Linked DNA regions of Homo sapiens: regions 2, 3, 4 and 5 are each linked to region 1. Evidence: promoter capture Hi-C in human tissues and cell types (Jung and others, 2019). All regions are on one chromosome and are shown on one strand. Each heading gives the region's core, a stretch centred on a gene start or on the middle of the fragment in contact. The rest is flanking DNA. Distances are from core to core; before and after follow the strand shown. Region 1 holds the start of OR6B2 (olfactory receptor family 6 subfamily B member 2). Region 2 overlaps HDAC4 (histone deacetylase 4). Region 3 overlaps HDAC4 (histone deacetylase 4). Region 4 has its middle 15 kb from the start of HDAC4-AS1. Region 5 has its middle 41 kb from the start of HDAC4-AS1.

Region 1 (3,380 bases), core at 482-2,981:
TCGAGGGAAAAAAAGATGAAAGCCAAAGTCTGGAGTTTAGTCCACAGTAATACCAATATCAATCCCTTACTGTGACAAATATACCCTCTTCATGTAGGAAGTTAGCCTTGGAGGAAGCTGAATGGAGGATCTCCCAGAGCTCTCTGCACTCTCTTTGTAACTTTTCTGTAAATCTAAAATTATTCCAAAATAAAAAGTTTATTTAAAAGAAAATGCAGCCATTGTCTAACAAGTTCAGGGGATGGATAGAGTGTGCTGTAAAGGGCCCTGAATTTGTAAAGTAACACAGTTTCAATTTAATGAATCAATCCGGTATTAACTAGCCAACTCACTAATGATCAGTTACCACTATCCAAATAATCAAGAGAAATCTATAGGTGCCTCTACTGTTCTGGGTTAAAAGCACAAGAACCAAAGCTCACTACCCCCACCGCCAGCTCTCCCCAGCAAACCCAGTCAACAGGTGGGGGCTGCTGGCCTTCCAAGGAGCTCCTGTGGACCCCAACTTTCCTCCTTGTGGACTTTAAAGCCCCCTGTGGCCACTCAGCTGGGAAGAGGACACAGTCACCACCCTGGATGGTGTCTAGAGAGGCTACATTCAGACTCACATCTTGAGACCCCTTTAATGGCAGGGGTTCTTATTGCTTTTGTTTTGGGGAGACAGTAGGCGGTGACTGGAGTGAGTAGTAAATGCTTGTGAAATTGATCCTAAACTCTGAACTGCACGCTGGCATTTTAAGGCAGGGAATGGCCATGCCGCCCCAGTGGATGATCTTGGGTTCCCACAGAATGCTCACCCTAGACGGCAGGAGTACAGGTGCGTTTCCAAGTGTAAACCTGTCCCTGGGCAATTCCCTTCTAGAAGTTTGTTTTTCAGCCTGCAACTCTTCCATGAACTCGACTTGTCTAGCCAACCCCCTACACGTCACCATGAGGCTCTCCAGTAAGTGCCGCGCACCACGCCTCCCCAGCACAGACTCCAGATTATTCGGCACCCACCTGGCCCTCTCCTAGTCTTCTCATCAATTTTTAGCATCCTGGGCCAGAAACCTGGGGTCACCCTCCCCAGCTGTGAGCTGGTGGAAGTCTGCCATTCAACCCACCTAGACTGCCAATGAAAAGAACCACCAGATGCCCTGTGGGGCAAGGGGCTGTGGCTACCCTCTCTCTCCCCCACCTGTGGACCAGGTCCCCCAGAGCCAGGCAGCCCTTTCCTGGGAGCCCTCCCTGCATTCCTCCGGCTGGTTAGCCCAGTTTGGGGTTCTGCCCTGGTAGGCTGATAGCCCCTCACCTCATGCCGAGGCTGCTGCCCCGACTTGCAGGAACCCTCAGATGAAGGACCCTAAGGAGGGCCAGCTCTGTGTCCATGCCCACTTGGATCTTGAGAGCTGCCCCAGGCACGTGTGGACTGGTAGTGCCCCTGGACTCAGAGCTTTGGGTTTTGCCCACCCTGGAGCTGCCCGGCTCTGTTCCTCAGCATATACTCTCTTCCTCATTCCTACTTCATGGTTATATGTAAATGCAAGCACACAGAAGTTTTCTACTTTAAAACTCAGAAGATCAGCAGATCACTGCTCTCTCCTGGTGCTCTGGGGAGCCACGTGGCCTCTCTTTGCACCAAAACTCCCCATCCAAGTCCAGCTCCACTCTCTCTCTGCCTCAGCTGCCCTGCAGCCCTTTCCTCTTGCTCTTTGATGTTTTGTAGGCCTGCAGCTCCCAAGCACAGAGGCATGAGTGGGGAGAATGTCACCAAGGTCAGCACCTTCATCCTGGTGGGCCTCCCCACGGCCCCAGGGCTGCAGTACCTGCTCTTCCTCCTCTTCCTGCTCACCTACCTCTTTGTCCTGGTGGAGAACCTGGCCATCATCCTCATCGTCTGGAGCAGCACCTCCCTCCACAGGCCCATGTACTACTTTCTGAGCTCCATGTCTTTCCTGGAGATCTGGTACGTGTCTGACATCACCCCCAAGATGCTGGAGGGCTTCCTCCTCCAGCAGAAACGCATCTCTTTCGTCGGGTGCATGACGCAGCTCTACTTCTTCAGCTCCCTGGTGTGCACCGAGTGTGTGCTTCTGGCCTCCATGGCCTACGACCGCTACGTGGCCATCTGCCACCCGCTGCGCTACCACGTCCTTGTGACCCCGGGGCTGTGCCTCCAGCTGGTGGGCTTCTCCTTTGTGAGTGGCTTCACCATCTCCATGATCAAGGTCTGTTTTATCTCCAGCGTCACGTTCTGTGGCTCCAACGTCTTGAACCACTTCTTCTGTGACATTTCCCCCATCCTCAAGCTGGCCTGCACGGACTTCTCCACTGCAGAGCTGGTGGATTTCATCCTGGCCTTCATCATCCTGGTGTTTCCGCTCCTGGCCACCATACTGTCATATTGGCACATCACCCTGGCTGTCCTGCGCATCCCCTCGGCCACCGGCTGCTGGAGAGCCTTCTCTACCTGCGCCTCTCACCTCACCGTGGTCACCGTCTTCTATACAGCCTTGCTTTTCATGTATGTCCGGCCCCAAGCCATTGATTCCCAGAGCTCCAACAAGCTCATCTCTGCCGTGTACACTGTTGTCACGCCAATAATTAACCCTTTGATTTACTGCCTGAGGAACAAGGAATTTAAGGACGCCTTGAAAAAGGCCTTGGGCTTGGGTCAAACTTCACACTAAGACAACTAAATGTCCTAGAGTAAAATCTGTAGTGATGAAACAACATTGTATGTGGCACTTTGTGCTCTTTAAATTAATTTTTAAGTTAAATTTAACAAACCTACAGAACTAAGTGAAATTTAACAAACCTACACAACTGTGCACAAGTAACAAGCCTTCGTCTGCATATGTTTTCACAAAAGGACTGTGCTCATGGAACCAGCTCCCAGATCAAGAACTAGAAGCTGCCTTCACGCCCTCTCCCAGTCATTAACCCTTCTCCACAAAAAGCACTGTCCTGACTTCCAAAACCAGATGCTAGCATTGGTGTTTCTGAGGGGCTTACACATAAAGTATGTGCCCTGTTATGTTCAGCTTCTTTCATTCACCGTGTTGCTTGAGTGAATCCTTGATGTTTTTGCATGTAACAATAATTCATGCATTCTCATTGCTATCCAATATTCATAATAAATAATACATTTATACTGTATAATACACAATGCATAATACATTCATACTGGGATAATACATATACTGGGATAATGCATATACTGTATTGTGTATTATATATACATAATACATTATGCTGGGTGAAACCCTGTCCCACCTGTCCCAGCAGGTGTGAGCCACTGTGCTCATCCATAATTTATGCATCTAAACACAGATAAGGTAAGTCAAAATATAATGTCATAATCTTATGGGACCACCATCTTATGTGCCGTTCAGTTCATC
Region 2 (3,380 bases), core at 435-2,934, 710 kb after region 1:
CTCTTCCTAAGCCAGGGCGCTGCAGCCATATTCAGTCTCTTGTTCTTTGGCTCCCGTCCCTGTCGCTGCGTCCCTACAGCAGCACCTCGCCCACGCCCCCTTCTGTTATGGCCTCTCCAAGGGATGGCGAGTTTAACAACAACTGACCAGGGTTTCCACAGGAGACAGAGAACAGGCTTTCTGCAGCGTGGGTTCCCAGTTGTGCTGTGAGCTGTGGTGCCTCGTGAGTGGGGCTCTTCCGACCATCCTGTCACCACTTGCGTCAGAGTCCTGCGTGCTATCTGCCTGGGGGTCCTGAGTGTGCTGGCTGCTGCACTGAAGCGGGTGGGCTGCTGAGCAGGAAGCCACAGCATGCCACGCAGGCACTTTGGCTTTGCTTGGCCCCTGGAGAGCAAACACATAATGGCAATAGGCTTTACAGGGAGTAGGATTTATTTACTTTATCTGAAGGAGTTTAAAAATTGCTATTGTTCTCTTGGCTTTTAATTTTCACTCTCACCAGCCTTTCTGTTCAGGATACTGTGCGGTGAGGACCTCTTTCTCCATGTTAAGTTCGCACTGGTGAGTTGTGGCAGGATTGGTTTTCTTGTAGGATGGCTCAGGGCTGTGTTTCTTTCAGCTAATTGTGGCTACATTTTTGCCTTTGCGTGTCCAATTTGGGTTTCAAATTCAGGATTGTCCAAGTACTCTATGTTTGAAAATATTTTCCAGAGACCCCAGATTTCTTATTTATGTGCGTTAGTTACTTTTTAATTTTTTCAGCTGCCTTCTAGTTTCACACCTTCAATTGTGCTAATCCTTCGCATTTTAAAAGTTACACCAGCCTTTGTCAGTGTTTCATCAGTGCATACCGTAGCGCATGTGGTCCCGTTCAGATGCACTTTCTGTGGCCTGGATTCTAGGGGAAGCAATAGAGGATATATTTCATTCTGAAATTTGCACTGTTTCTTTTTTAAGTTAAATATTTCAACAGCAATGGATGTTCTTGTCTTTTTTTAGAAAAAATAAAAATGAATGTTTTTGTGGCGCTTCTGCCTGCTTGAGTGGCAGCGTTTTTTCCCTGTGCAGGCCCCCAGGTGTGTGTGATTGGCTGCCCCGGGGCCCCGTGACAGGGGATGCTTTTTGAGCTCTCACCGGCATCTTCCTCCTTAAATCCAGATTGGGCGGAGACATGAATTCAGCATTACCTCTCCCATGTCCACACGTGAAGAAGCACTTTCCAGGCGCACACACCTAAGTCGTTGGCCGCGGGTTCTTGGAGGGCGTGGCCTGAGCTCCCAGACGCCTCCTCTCTCACCTAGCACTGCACAGTGCCTTCCACACACAGGCTCTCCGAGGATCTGCCCCATTTATTGCTTTGATTTTGTTGGATGAAAGCAGTTTATTAAATAAATGGGAAAATACTCCCCTTCCCCAGTTTCAAAAGTTAAGATGTAGTCTTTTCTTTACTTAACATCCAACAATGCTGAAAGATGAAAGAAAGGAAAATGCTCTCTTTACCCTGCCAGACCACATTTAGCTGGGAGGCACACAGTTCAGAGAAAGTCACAGGTGACATTTTGTAGATTCTCAAGCAGGAGCTCTCTCTCTTTTTCTCTCTTTCCCTCTTTGTCTCCCCATGTCCATACCTGTACCTATTACATACACGATAGAACAGCAATGGGATTTTTTTGTAGCTCCGTAATATTTCAGTATTTAAAAATCCTCTGTTAATGGGACTTAAATTTTTTGTATAGTAAATAACACCTCAGCGAGCATTGTTGCACATGTGTCTTTATGTTTGGGGCTGGTTGTTCTTATCATGATTGTTTTGTTAGGATAAAGTCCAAGAAACAGAACTGTGGGGACAAGGGGATGCGTGAGTCACCCTCATCATCAAGAGTGAGCCGTTTGTGGCACGTGCACCCCACCCACTATGGCAAGATGCCTCCACACACCCCGCAGCAGCGCTGGGTTTGTCTCAGTCACTGCAGTTCTTTCTGGGCTTCCCGAGAAGGAAGGGCCACAAGAGTCTGTCCAGGTGCTGGGGCAGACATTGGTGACGTCGCTTATCGAAGCCAGGAGTGGGGCCCCGGGTGTGGGGCCGAGTGACAGACCCAGGCTACCCACACCCGGGCAGGATGAAGAGTCTCAAGAGTGCTTTCCTTAGGCTGGTTCCCGTCCACACACCAGCACTCAGCCAGTCAAGACACCTCTTGTGAGCATCTGCTACATGCCAGGCTGCTGTAAGCACTGGGGTCTACTGGTGAACCACACAGGAAAAGCCCCCACCCATTGCCACACCCAGTGCCAGTGGGAAAGTCAAACAGTAGATGGGTAAATAAACAACTACATAATGGTAAATATGGCTGGCAGTGATGGAGTCTGCCCTGCACAGGCACTTTGCTAAGTGTTTTCTACATATTTACAGCTGTGATCCCCACAACAGCCTACGGATGGGTCCTACTAACCTTACATCATCTGTATTTTACAGATGAGAAAACAGAGGCATTGAGAAAGGAAGTCACTGGCCCAAGGGGCTGTGCCAAGCAACTGACTCTTAACCAGTGAGCTTGCGCTCTGAAGTGTAAGGCTTTACTCCCCTAAACTTGTCATTGCAAGGCAGTAGAATAGGATCTGGAGACAGGGGGCCTTCACTTCAGCATCCGATTGGTTGCAGGCTGAGCTTTCACTTCAGCCCCTGATTGGTTGCAGGCCAAGTCTTCATTCGCATAGGGTGTAACTTCACTTTGGCCTCTGATTGGTCATGAGCCAAGTCTTCATTTACATAGGGTGTAACCAGTAGGAAACCTCTAAAGGGTACTTAACCCCCAGAAGATTTTGCAAGTGGGAGTCTTGAGCAGCTTGCTCTGGAGCTTGCTCCTGCTCTGTGGAGTGTACTTCCGCTTAAACAAATCTGTGCTTTCGTTGCTTCATTCTTTCATTGCTTTGTTTGTGTGTTTTGTCCAATTCTTTGTTCAACATGTCAAGAACCTGGACGACTCGCAGTGAAGACCCTCCCCCTTAACAACCGGATGTGCCATCAGGGATAGATGCTGCCCTGAGAATGATGAAGCCAGTGTCTAGGGGAAGTCCTGGTGTGGGCGGGAGCTGTGATGTTCTGTGCTCTATGGCAGGGCTTTGGAGGGCTTTGACTGGGCCAGAGCAAGTAACTATAAAATGTCAGACCTTAGAAGAAAAGCATCCTGTACTCTGACAGGAAGCAGCATGAGTTGGTTGTCACTAAAAGGAAGAACTTCTGAGAACCCCACAAAGGACCCAGTTAGGTAATTGTTGAAAGCTGCTACTCCTTCAGGGATAATGTAATATTTTTCCAACATTTACACACGTTCACCTTATTTAAGATTGGCTCAAAACACAGAAAAATGTAAGCTAACCTT
Region 3 (3,380 bases), core at 535-3,034, 680 kb after region 1:
TGCTCTCTTGAGCGGGAAATTTCTAGGTGTGTCAGAGCACAGCCACGGAACCGCTGTCCCTTTTCCTTGAGCCGAGGAGCCGAGTCCTGGCAACGTGGTGTTCGGGGCCTACCTGGCTGCACCTCCCCTCCCTCCGTGTGTCTCTCGTGCCGTCCTCTGCTAGCTGGCCCTGTCCTTCGCCCTGCCCACCCGGCTCACTCTTGCCTGCCTGGCTCACCCTTGCCTGCCCATCTGGCATGGGGGCCCTGCTCCTGTGTGGCCTGGTGTGGGTGCCCGTGCCGCCCTCACTCCCTGGGCAGGCCGGGCTGGGGGAGTCCAGCCGCCCATGGGCCCCCTCTCACATTTGTCATGTGACTTGGCTTTGCCCTGCTGATGAAGTGCCCTTCTAGTGCAGTGTGTGTGGCTTTCCTCTCCTGTGTTCTGTGAAAGTCCTCTGCTGCTGGGTGAGTTTTGTGTTACGGTTTTATTGCTGTTCCCGCTGAACTTTGCCAGAGCCAGGCCCTGGTTCTCTGACGTCAAAGCTGCTTAACTGTTGGGATTTTATTGCTCTAAAGAACGATTTCTAATGATGTGAGCGGCCTGAGGGAAGAACCTGGATTGACTTAGCCTGGAAGGGCTCTCCTTTGAAAGGAGGCCCTGGAGCCTTACGCCCCTTGCCCGGCCAGCCCTCCACACCCTCCCTGAGGGGATGCGCTGTGGCAGGGCAGGATGCGTTTGTCAGGACACAGAGCCTCTGCCTTGAAGCCAGAGTCCCTGGCATGAAACCGGGAGTGTGGACGGAAAGCCCACGGGGGCCTGCTGGCAGGACAAGCTACGCCTCCTTTTTTTTCTCCCATTCCCTTGTTTTCCTCCAAGGACAGTTCTCCAAGTAACTGTCCTTGTCTTTCCTTGTGGTTAAGGGCTTAGGATACTGGTGACTTGACTGGCCAGCAGGAAAGGCAGACGTTGTTACTTGGCCACCCACTTAACACTACCCCGTCCCTCCAGTGTCATTTACTTTCCCTTCCGGAATGTTCGTGCCTAGAGAAAGTCTTGCCCAGAAAAGTTCTCAGTGTCAAGGAGCCCCGCAGTGGATTTGCTGGGACGTGGATTTGCTGGGACGTGTCTGTGGTCAGCGGGATGGTGCTCTCGATAGGAAGCAGTGCATTTGCTGGGACGTGGATTTGCTGGGACGTGTCTGTGGTCAGCGGGATGGTGCTCTCGATAGGAAGCAGTGCATTTGCTGGGACGTGGATTTGCTGGGACGTGTCTGTGGTCACCGGGATGATGCTCTCGATAGGAAGCAGTGGATTTGCTGGGACGTGTCTGTGGTCACCGGGATGATGCTCTCGATAGGAAGCAGTGGATTTGCTGGGACGTGTCTGTGGTCACCGGGATGATGCTCTCGATAGGAAGCAGTGCATTTGCTGGGACGTGGATTTGCTGGGACGTGTCTATGGTCACCGGGATGATGCTCTCGATAGGAAGCTGGTTGAGCAGGCAGTGGTCGGTAACTTGAGCATCCTCTCGCTCCTGGAATCTTGGTGCGAGGTACGGATAATGTTTAGTTCAAAACAAAATAAGTGGCCGGGTGCGGTGGCTCAAACCTGTAATCCTCGTGCTTTGAGAGGCCGAGGTGGGCAGATCATTTGAGGTCAGGAGTTCGCGATCAGCCTGGTCAGCATGGTCAAACCCCGTCTCTACTAAAAACACAAAAATTAGCCAGGCGTGGTGGCACGCGCCTGTAGTCCCAGCTACTCGGGAGGCTGAGGCAGGAGAATCGCTTGAATCCGGGAGGTGAGGTTGCAGTGAGCCGAGATGGTGCCACTGCACTGTAGCCTGGCCGACAGAGCAAGACTGTTGTCTCAAAACAAAAAAAAAGGATTTTGTGGGAAACGTGTGTAACTTAAGATCAGTGTGTTCATTTGGGCCATTCTATGATTTCTTAATATTCTGTTCAGTCTGAGCTACCCCCATCCACATAAAAGCAGCTAAAAAGTCTCTGTCCACAATGACTTGGTGATGAGTGAGTTCATGGTAATACAGTTGCTTCAGACCACTGTTGAGTGTTAACCCTGTGAGTCCAGGGAGAAGGCTCTCCTCTGGGATTGCTTCCAGTCCTCATGTTCTGCTCTAACTTTATTTGATCTTGAATCTGTTTATTTTAACTATTGTGGCCGCCAAGATTATTATATTTTAATATAGAAATGATCCATAAAGATGCATTTTTATGGCATTTAAATAATGCTCTGCAGTGGTTGAATGTCTCAGGAATACCACAAAGTGTCTGTGTGTATGTGTGTGTTAGAGTGTGTGTTAGGGTGTGTGTTTTAGACAGGTTGTATGTGTGTGAATCAGGGTGTATGTGTGTTAGGGTGTGTGCGTGTGATGGGGTGTGTGTTTTAGACAGGGTGTGTGTGTTAGGGTGCGTGTGTGTGTTTTAGACACAATGTGTATGTGTTAGGGTGTGTGTGTGTTTTAGACAGGGTGTGTGTGTGAGAGACAGGGTGTGTGTGTTAGGGTGTGTGTGTTTTAGATAGGGTGTGTGTGAGACAGGGTGTGTGTGTTAGGTGGTGTGTGTGTGTTTTAGACAGGGTGTGTGTGTGTGAGACGGTGTATGTGTTAGGGTGTGTGTTTAGACAGGGTGTGTGTGTCAGGGTGTGTTTTAGAGCGTGTGTGTTAGGGTATGTGTGTGTTAGGGTGTGTGTTTTAGACAGTGTGTGTGTTTTAGACTGTATTAAGATATGGGTGTGTGTTTTAGACAGAGTGTGTGTGTGTTAAGGTGTGTATGTGTGTTTTAGACAGGTGTGTGTGTTATGGTCTGTGTGTGTGTGTGTGTGTGTGAAGGTGTGTTTGTGTGTTTTAGGGTGTGGTATGTGTTAGGGTGTGTGTGTCTTAGACTGTGTGTTAAAGTATGGGTGTGTGTTTTGGACAGGATGTGTGTTAAGGTATGTATGTGTGTTTTAAACAGGGTGTGTGTGTCCTAGACTATGTGTTAAAAGTATGGGTGTGTGTTCTAGACAGGATGTGTGTTAAGATGTGTGTATGTGTGTTTTAGACGGGTGTGTATGGTCTGTATGCGTGTGTGTTAGGGTGTGTTTGTGTTTTAGGGTGTGGTATGTGTGTTAGGGTGTGGGTGTCTGTGTATTAAAGTATGGGTGTGTGTTTTAGACAGGATATGTGTGTGTTAAGGTATGTATGTGTGTTTTAGACAGGGTGTGTGTGTTTTAGACAGTGTGTGTTGGGTGAGTGCATGTGTGAGATGGGGGTGTGTGTGTTTCAGACGGTGTGTATGTGTGTTAGGGTGTGTGTGTGTTGGGTGAGTGCATGTGTGAGATGGGGGTGTGTGTGTTTCAGACGGTGTGTATGTGTGTTAGGATGTGTGTGTGAGAGTGAGTGCA
Region 4 (3,380 bases), core at 557-3,056, 610 kb after region 1:
CACTAAATGCCCACTACTTGCTGGGCAGCATGCTAAGTGCAAGGGCTTCCGCAGTGAATTGAAGATAGATACAAGTTCTTTCTTATTTCCCCAAGTCTTCTTGTGCTTGTACGATGTGATACCAGGAGCACCTGCCTCTCAGGGGGCTTGCAAGGGTTGCCGTGGGCTTGCCTCAGTGCCCGCACACACAGTCACTGCTCAGATGTTTAAATTATGATCATGCGGGGCTTTTAATCATCTAACGCTAAAAAAAAGTCAAGGAATAACAAATAATATTTCCACTTAAAAGTGAAATCCTGATGAAACATGATTTCTCATATTAAGTGCCTTCTTCCTCAACAAAATGAATTTAGAGCATCGTGTGCACTTGAAAAGTAACGTTAACTATTTGCCCACCCTTATACACATTTATTCCAATTTTCATTATGACAGTTTGGAATTTCTTTTGTGTCCTAGAAACTACTTGTTAGTGAAAAATGTAATTTGATTTTCATGCAAAAATAATTGACTTCAATAGTCTCCACAGAATTTAATTCTTAAGACTGATACCCAAGGAAATTTTATGAGTTTCAATTGTGCAACTGGCAATGCTTCTAAACACGATTAAGAAATAACATAGAATTTGGCCGGGCGCCGTGGCTCACGCCTGTAATCCCAGCACTTTGGGAGACCAAGGCGGGTGGATCACGCGAGGTCAGGAGTTCAAGATCAGCCTGGCCAACATGGTGAAACCCCGTCTCTACCAAAAATACAAAAATTAGCCAGGTGTAGTGGTGCACGCCTGTAATTCCAGCTACTTGGGAGGCTGAGGCAGGAGAATTGCAGTGAACCGATATTGCACCCCTGCACTCCAGGCTGGGTGACAGAGCGAGACTCTGTCTCAAAAAAAAAAAAAAAAAAAAAAAGAAGAAAAAAAGAAATAACATAGAATTTTTGTCTTTTCCAGATCACAGAAGTGAAGTTGTCCTTTCGACATAATTTGTTGAGGGTCACGAACTGTGTGAGGTGAGAAAGTTCATCAGTGGAAAAGAGAGGAGGCGTCAGAGTTGCTTGACCACTGTGGAAGGTGGGCACTGGGTAAACCACTGGCTGTTTGAATACTAACACAATCTTGAAAGAGAAAGATTCTGATCTTGGAACTGTCCTCCACATTTATTATGTATGTATGTGTGTATTTTATTTTGGATACCAATGTTAAATATTCCAAGCTTAGAGAGAAGTAGAAGAGTTAATGACCACATGTGTCCGTGCTTGTTATCATATGTATCCAAAATCGTTTATTCCTCTTTGTTGTGTAGTGTTCCGTTGCATGGATGGACCACTCCGTTTATCCACTCAGTCACTGAAAGACCTTAGGGTTGTTTCCAGTTTGTGGCTATTATGAATAAAACTATGATAGACATTTTCATATAGATTTTTGTGGAGCACATGTTTTCATTTCTCTAGGGTAAATACTGAGGAACAGGATTGCTGGGTGTATTAGTCCTATCCAAGACTGGGTAATTTATAAGGAAAAAGAGGTTTAATGGACTCACAGTTGCATGTGGCTGGGGAGGCCTCACAATCATCTCGGAAGGTGAAAGGCATGTGTTACATGGCAGCAGACAAAAGAAGGGCGCTTGTGCAGGGAAACTCCCCTTTATAAAACCATCAGGTCGGCCGGGTGTGGTGGCTCATGCCTGTAATCCCAAAACTTTGGGAGGCCGAGGTGGGCAGATCACCTGAGGTTGGGAGTTTGAGACCAGCCTGACCAACATGGAGAAACCCCATCTCTACTAAAAATGCAAAATTACCTGGGCATGGTGGCGCATGCCTGTAATCCTAGCTACTCAGGAGGCTGAGAGAATCGCTTGAACCCAGGAGGCAGAAGTTGTGGTGAGCCAAGATCGTGCCATTGCACTCCAGCCTGGGCAACAAGAGCAAAACTCTGTCACACACACATATACGGAAAAAAACACCAAAAAACAAAAAAACAAAACCATCAGATCTCATGACACTTACTCACTATCACAAAAACAGCATGGGAAAGATCCACCCCCATGATTCAATTACCTCCCATGGGTCCCTCCCACAACACATGGAAATTGTGGGCGGTATAATTCAAGATGAGATTTGGGTGGGGACACAGCCAAACCATATCACTGGATCATATATATGGTAGGTGGATGTTTACCAATGGGAAAAAACTGCAACGCAACAAGACGCCTTTTTTTTGCATTGGCTGCACCACTTTGCATTCCCATCAGCCAGACGTGAGAGTTGCAGTTGTTCTGCATCCCCATCAGCCTCATAGTCTCCACTGTGTTTTCTTTCAGCCCAGCAGATAGATGTGAAGTGGCAGCGCATTGTGGTTTGAATTTGCATTTCCCCAATGGCTAATGATATTGAACAGTGATGTCAAATTTATTAATATTTTCCTTCATGGCTTCTGGCTTCTGTGTGCTATGAAAGAAATCTTTTCATGGGACATAAAACTATTCCTACCCCATTTCCTTCTAAGACTCTGAAGTTTTACTTTTTCGTATATAGACTATTTTTCTGCCAAGTTTATGTGTTTGATGTGAAATGTAATTTTATTTTTCTTTTGTTTAATATGGAGAACCCATTGTCCAAGTATCAATGATTTAGTCGTCTTTCTCCTCTGCTCCGTAATGCAATCTCTGTCATAGATCAAGTTTCCATACATACATGTGCTGCTGCCTGGACCCTGTTCTGTTATGCCGCTGTATTTGTCTATTCCTGTGCCAAGGCCATGTGGCACAATTCCTAAAGCTTAGAATAGATCTTGACATTTGGGTAAAACACCTCCCCTCCACCACTGTGTTATTTATCAAAATTGCCTTGCCTATTCTCAGCTCTTTGCTATTTAATGATTTTCAGAAGTGATTTGCCAAAAATTGCATTGAGGTTTTAAAATGCATTGAAGAGAATCATCATTTTTTACAATTTTCAGCTTTTCCATCCATGGATATGGTATTCATTTAATTGAATCCGAGATGCCATCAAGTAGAAGATGCACCATTATTTTATGTGCTATGAGGAAACAGAAAGTGCTGCCAATTGATCTACGACACGAAACTATGACACAGTTAATTTTAAGACATATTTGATTTCTGAGATGTTAAAAATGTGAAAAAATGCATGTTTCAGAATTGATGAAATTTGGTGTATACCATCAGTTATTTGGTTCCGTTTAAAATATATTTCAGTAAGTTTCACAACTGTTTCCACGAATATCTTTTACAAGTTTTGTTAGGTCTATCCCTAGGCAGCATGAAGTTTTTGCACTGTAAATGGTGTCTTTAGAATTCTAAGTGTTTCTGTGTATAGAAATACGATGAATTTTGATGTATGGATCTTATGTCTGGAAAACTTCCTGA
Region 5 (3,380 bases), core at 588-3,087, 590 kb after region 1:
AGATCAGGCAGAAGTCGGGAAGGAGAGACACACACGTGTAGCCAGCACTCGACTGTGGGCAATGGAGTCCTTCCAGCTCTAGGAGCACAGAGGCTGTGCTTGTCAGAGTGAAAACACGAAGCCCCAGCCCCATGTCACACTCCAAGGCCTGATGAGCAGATGCCAAGGCCTTGGCAACACAGAGAGGAAGGGTGCTGCCCCCCCATCTTCAGCCAGCTCTGGGTGTCCCGACTCGAGAAGCGGCAAGGACAGCTTGTAGCCTGAAAGTCAGCGGAGTGGTGTAGCCTGAAAGTCAGCAGAGTGGTGTAGCCTGTGAGTGCAGAAGGGCTCTCAGAGCTGCCGGAGGTTGGAGCAAACAAGGACAGCTTCTGAAAGAGCTCCCTTTCGGGCACAGCCTTGAACAATTGCAAGTAAGAGGCCTCCAGACCAAGAAGGCAGCTGAACCTGACAACAAGGAGCTCTGGGCAGGTGATACTAGGCCAAAGGCTGCAATTAGGGCAAAGGGGAATGAAAAGCTGGAACAGCGGAGCCCAGAAAGTCAGGCAGAGGACATCAGGGGCAGGGTCCCAAGGCCGCCAAAAGGGTGAAATGGCAGCAGGCAAAGGGCTAAGGGGTGAGTGGGCAGGATGGAGGCAGCCGCTGGTCTGTATTATGGAAAATTCTTAGAGCTCTCTTTTAATACAAAAAATCATACTCTTTTAGTACACTTTTGTAGGGTTGTAAAAGTTGTCCTGGTTGTTTATCTGTGTATGTAGAGGAATTCATTTAGATTTGGGAATGTGATTTTGAAATGTTAATTAACAGTGCCCCAAAGACACCTTCTTCTCAGTCCTGAGGACACTTATTGACTTAGGATGATGCTCTGAAGAGACTTCTGAAGCTCCAACAGGAAAGAACTGGGGGCCATGGCTCTTGACTAGGACTGGCCAAGTTGAGCGGGAAGAGAGAAAACCTGGGCCCATGAGAGCTGGGGTCAGACACAGGCTGGTGTTCACACAGGAGATGCAGGAGGAACCGCCGATGACCAAGCCGTGGTGGAAGGTGGAAGCGACAAGAGACTGACTTCAGCTCAATACAGAGACACTTCTCCAAGGAATCAAACTGCCCAGCAATGCCAGGGTCCTGTGGAAGGCAGAGAGCTGGGGGACCACCTCCCAAGAGTGTCTCTTTGAAAAGAGATCCCTGCTTTGACCGAGAGATGAAACAAAATGGTTTCTATAGCACCTTCCACGCCATGATGCCGTGATTGCATCTGCCAGTGCCTGGAGCTGCTGTGACCCAGGAGGCAGGTGAAAGAAAAGCCACTTCCCTCTCTGTTCACATCCAGCATTCAAACCATGATGCACTCTAGGCAGTGGTGTGCTGGAGCCCGCTTGTTCCCTTGCCCAGGAGCCCCTCATGTGTGGGCTATTGAGGGGATCATGTGAGATGAGGACTGTGAAGGCTTAGTGGACTCTACCCTGGGCCCAGCTCTGGTGTCAGATGCCTTTTCAGTGCTGTCATGGAGTTCACTTGGGTTCCCAAAAGCTGACAATGCATCTTCCCATCTCTGCTTTCAGTGGCATCATATCAGTAGCTTGACATCTGCTACAATGGGAATATTTACACCAGAGACATGGGCAGATGCTACAGATGAAAGCGTCCCCCACCCCCACCCCACACAACTGGTTGATAAACATTTGCCAGCAACCTCTGGCTCCAGGGCAAGATGCCTCTGACCCAAAGCTTTGGAGCCTTGATTTGGGTATGGAGCGTCCTGTCTCGTGCTCTCTCTGTGCCCACGCTGCCTGCCGGGGCTCATGTTTAGCCTCACTCAGGCAGCTGTGCTGCCTTCTGTCTCCTGGGCCTCTCCATCTTTACTCCTTTGTTTCTGTGCACTCCATCTCATAACACAAATGTGCCGGGAACTGAGGTGAGCACTGCGTGTGCAGTAGCTCATTTAATCCCCATGCCCTGGGGGCAAGGACCCTCCTGGCACTCTCCCTGTGCACAGAGGGGAGCCTGAGGCTCAGAGATACACAGTGACTTGCCAGAGAAGCGCCAAAACTCAGATAATCCAAAATAATGGTCAACGGAAAGTTGGCCTTTTGGGGCAGGAATGGGTGGAGTACACGGATGACATCCATTTGCCCGGTCCTTAAATCGAACTGTGCTCCCTCTGGGCATCAGGGAAGAGGGAGCCTGCAGTCACAACTTGCTGAAGAAAATTGCAAAAAGAATAATGTTTACACAGCTATTCATTAAAATAACCACAGACGTGCACAAAAGCTAGCAGAACCCATTTTCACACTCACGCCCAGGAACAAGAAGGAAATTCTCTTTAGATGCTTTTCCCTGTCACCATGAGGTGCCTCTTTGTATCTGGGGTGAAATTTGACTTGCAGAAATGAGGGTTCTTGGGCATTTCCAAAAACCCTCTGGGTGTCTGTTTCTTCCTGTGTAAAATAGGATCATGCCGGCCACAACAAATCCCTCCCCCAGCACCCAGGGGACTGAGAGAAAAGATGCATGTGGAGATGCTCTGCAAATTACACTCTGCCCTCCCAGAGTGTAATCCTGGGGAACTGGCTGAGGCTATGATGAGGCTCCATGTCATGGCAGTTTATAGTTTAGAAAATTTAGCAGTGGAGCCTTCCAGATGTTCTGAACCAAAATGCAACGATCCAAGGTCTCCTTTGGATTTCAACTTACTATGGATATGTGTTCACAGCCCCAGATGACATGTGTCCAGTTTTCCAGTAAAGGCCCGCTCTTACGAGGGCCGTGCTGCAAATGTATGAAACAAAAGAGCCATCTCTTCCTGCGAGCAGGAGTCAGCATCAGACATCTCAGCTTCTCAGTGCCGCTACGAATGCACTCGCGTTTAGAAAAATGAAAGGGAAGGGCTGTCACTGAAGCCTGAGAACATTCAATGACCCACTGGAGGACGTAGAAATCTCTCCAGGTTTTACGCTTCTCCGTCATGTTTCCACCTCGGTCTCTCCCAAGGAAGAGCAGTAAACACCGGCCTCCCTCCCTCCCTGCTGCCCTAGAACCGTGGCACGAACCCGTATCAAGGAGACCACATCCCCATTGCGGTTAACAGAGCCTTGGGGGGCAGGGAGGTGGGGGGGCTGACCCCTGAGGGTGTTTTCACAGCTGCAAAAGGACTTTTCCACTTGAGCCTTTAAAAATAGGTTGTCATGCCCCTCCCTGGGGAGGAGTAATCCAAGTAAAGCCCACTTCTGATTCCAACTAAAAGAAGTTTATAGACATTTTCTGTTTATTTGTGCCTCACACACCAATCAAAGCGAGCCCAAGTCACTGCCTGGCTCACGAGTATCTGATTTGGGTCCTATTATGTTGTCTGTTGGGGGGCACAGCTCAGAGTCCGAACTGAC

What was found. The method cuts DNA at HindIII sites, captures the fragments that hold promoters and counts their contacts. A contact is called where the count stands out against the background at its distance.
Region 2: a contact is called between a fragment that was not itself captured here and the fragment with the promoter of OR6B2 in region 1, in 1 of the 25 tissues and cell types used here (dorsolateral prefrontal cortex).
Region 3: a fragment that was not itself captured here is called in contact with the fragment with the promoter of OR6B2 in region 1 in 1 of the 25 tissues and cell types used here (dorsolateral prefrontal cortex).
Region 4: a contact is called between a fragment that was not itself captured here and the fragment with the promoter of OR6B2 in region 1, in 1 of the 25 tissues and cell types used here (dorsolateral prefrontal cortex).
Region 5: a contact is called between a fragment that was not itself captured here and the fragment with the promoter of OR6B2 in region 1, in 2 of the 25 tissues and cell types used here (dorsolateral prefrontal cortex and mesenchymal stem cells).

What each region holds. Positions count from the first base shown.
Region 1 is chr2:240,028,780-240,032,159 of GRCh38, reverse strand. It overlaps OR6B2 (olfactory receptor family 6 subfamily B member 2), which reads left to right and starts at 1,731. Exons shown (of 1, transcript NM_001005853.1): 1 at 1,731-2,669. The coding sequence starts at 1,731. The coding sequence ends at 2,669. The HindIII fragment of the contact is 5,539 bases long and covers 1-2,654 here.
Region 2 is chr2:239,321,490-239,324,869 of GRCh38, reverse strand. All of the region lies in intron 2 of HDAC4 (histone deacetylase 4), which reads left to right. Among named protein-coding and RNA genes, the nearest start is that of MIR4269, 18 kb to the right of the region's middle. The HindIII fragment of the contact is 9,878 bases long and covers 1-3,380 here.
Region 3 is chr2:239,345,999-239,349,378 of GRCh38, reverse strand. The region is part of intron 2 of HDAC4 (histone deacetylase 4); the gene reads left to right. Among named protein-coding and RNA genes, the nearest start is that of MIR2467, 4.1 kb to the left of the region's middle. The HindIII fragment of the contact is 7,160 bases long and covers 1-3,380 here.
Region 4 is chr2:239,415,155-239,418,534 of GRCh38, reverse strand. No RefSeq gene overlaps it. Among named protein-coding and RNA genes, the nearest start is that of HDAC4-AS1, 15 kb to the right of the region's middle. The HindIII fragment of the contact is 3,809 bases long and covers 1-3,380 here.
Region 5 is chr2:239,441,034-239,444,413 of GRCh38, reverse strand. No RefSeq gene overlaps it. Among named protein-coding and RNA genes, the nearest start is that of HDAC4-AS1, 41 kb to the right of the region's middle. The HindIII fragment of the contact is 3,080 bases long and covers 298-3,377 here.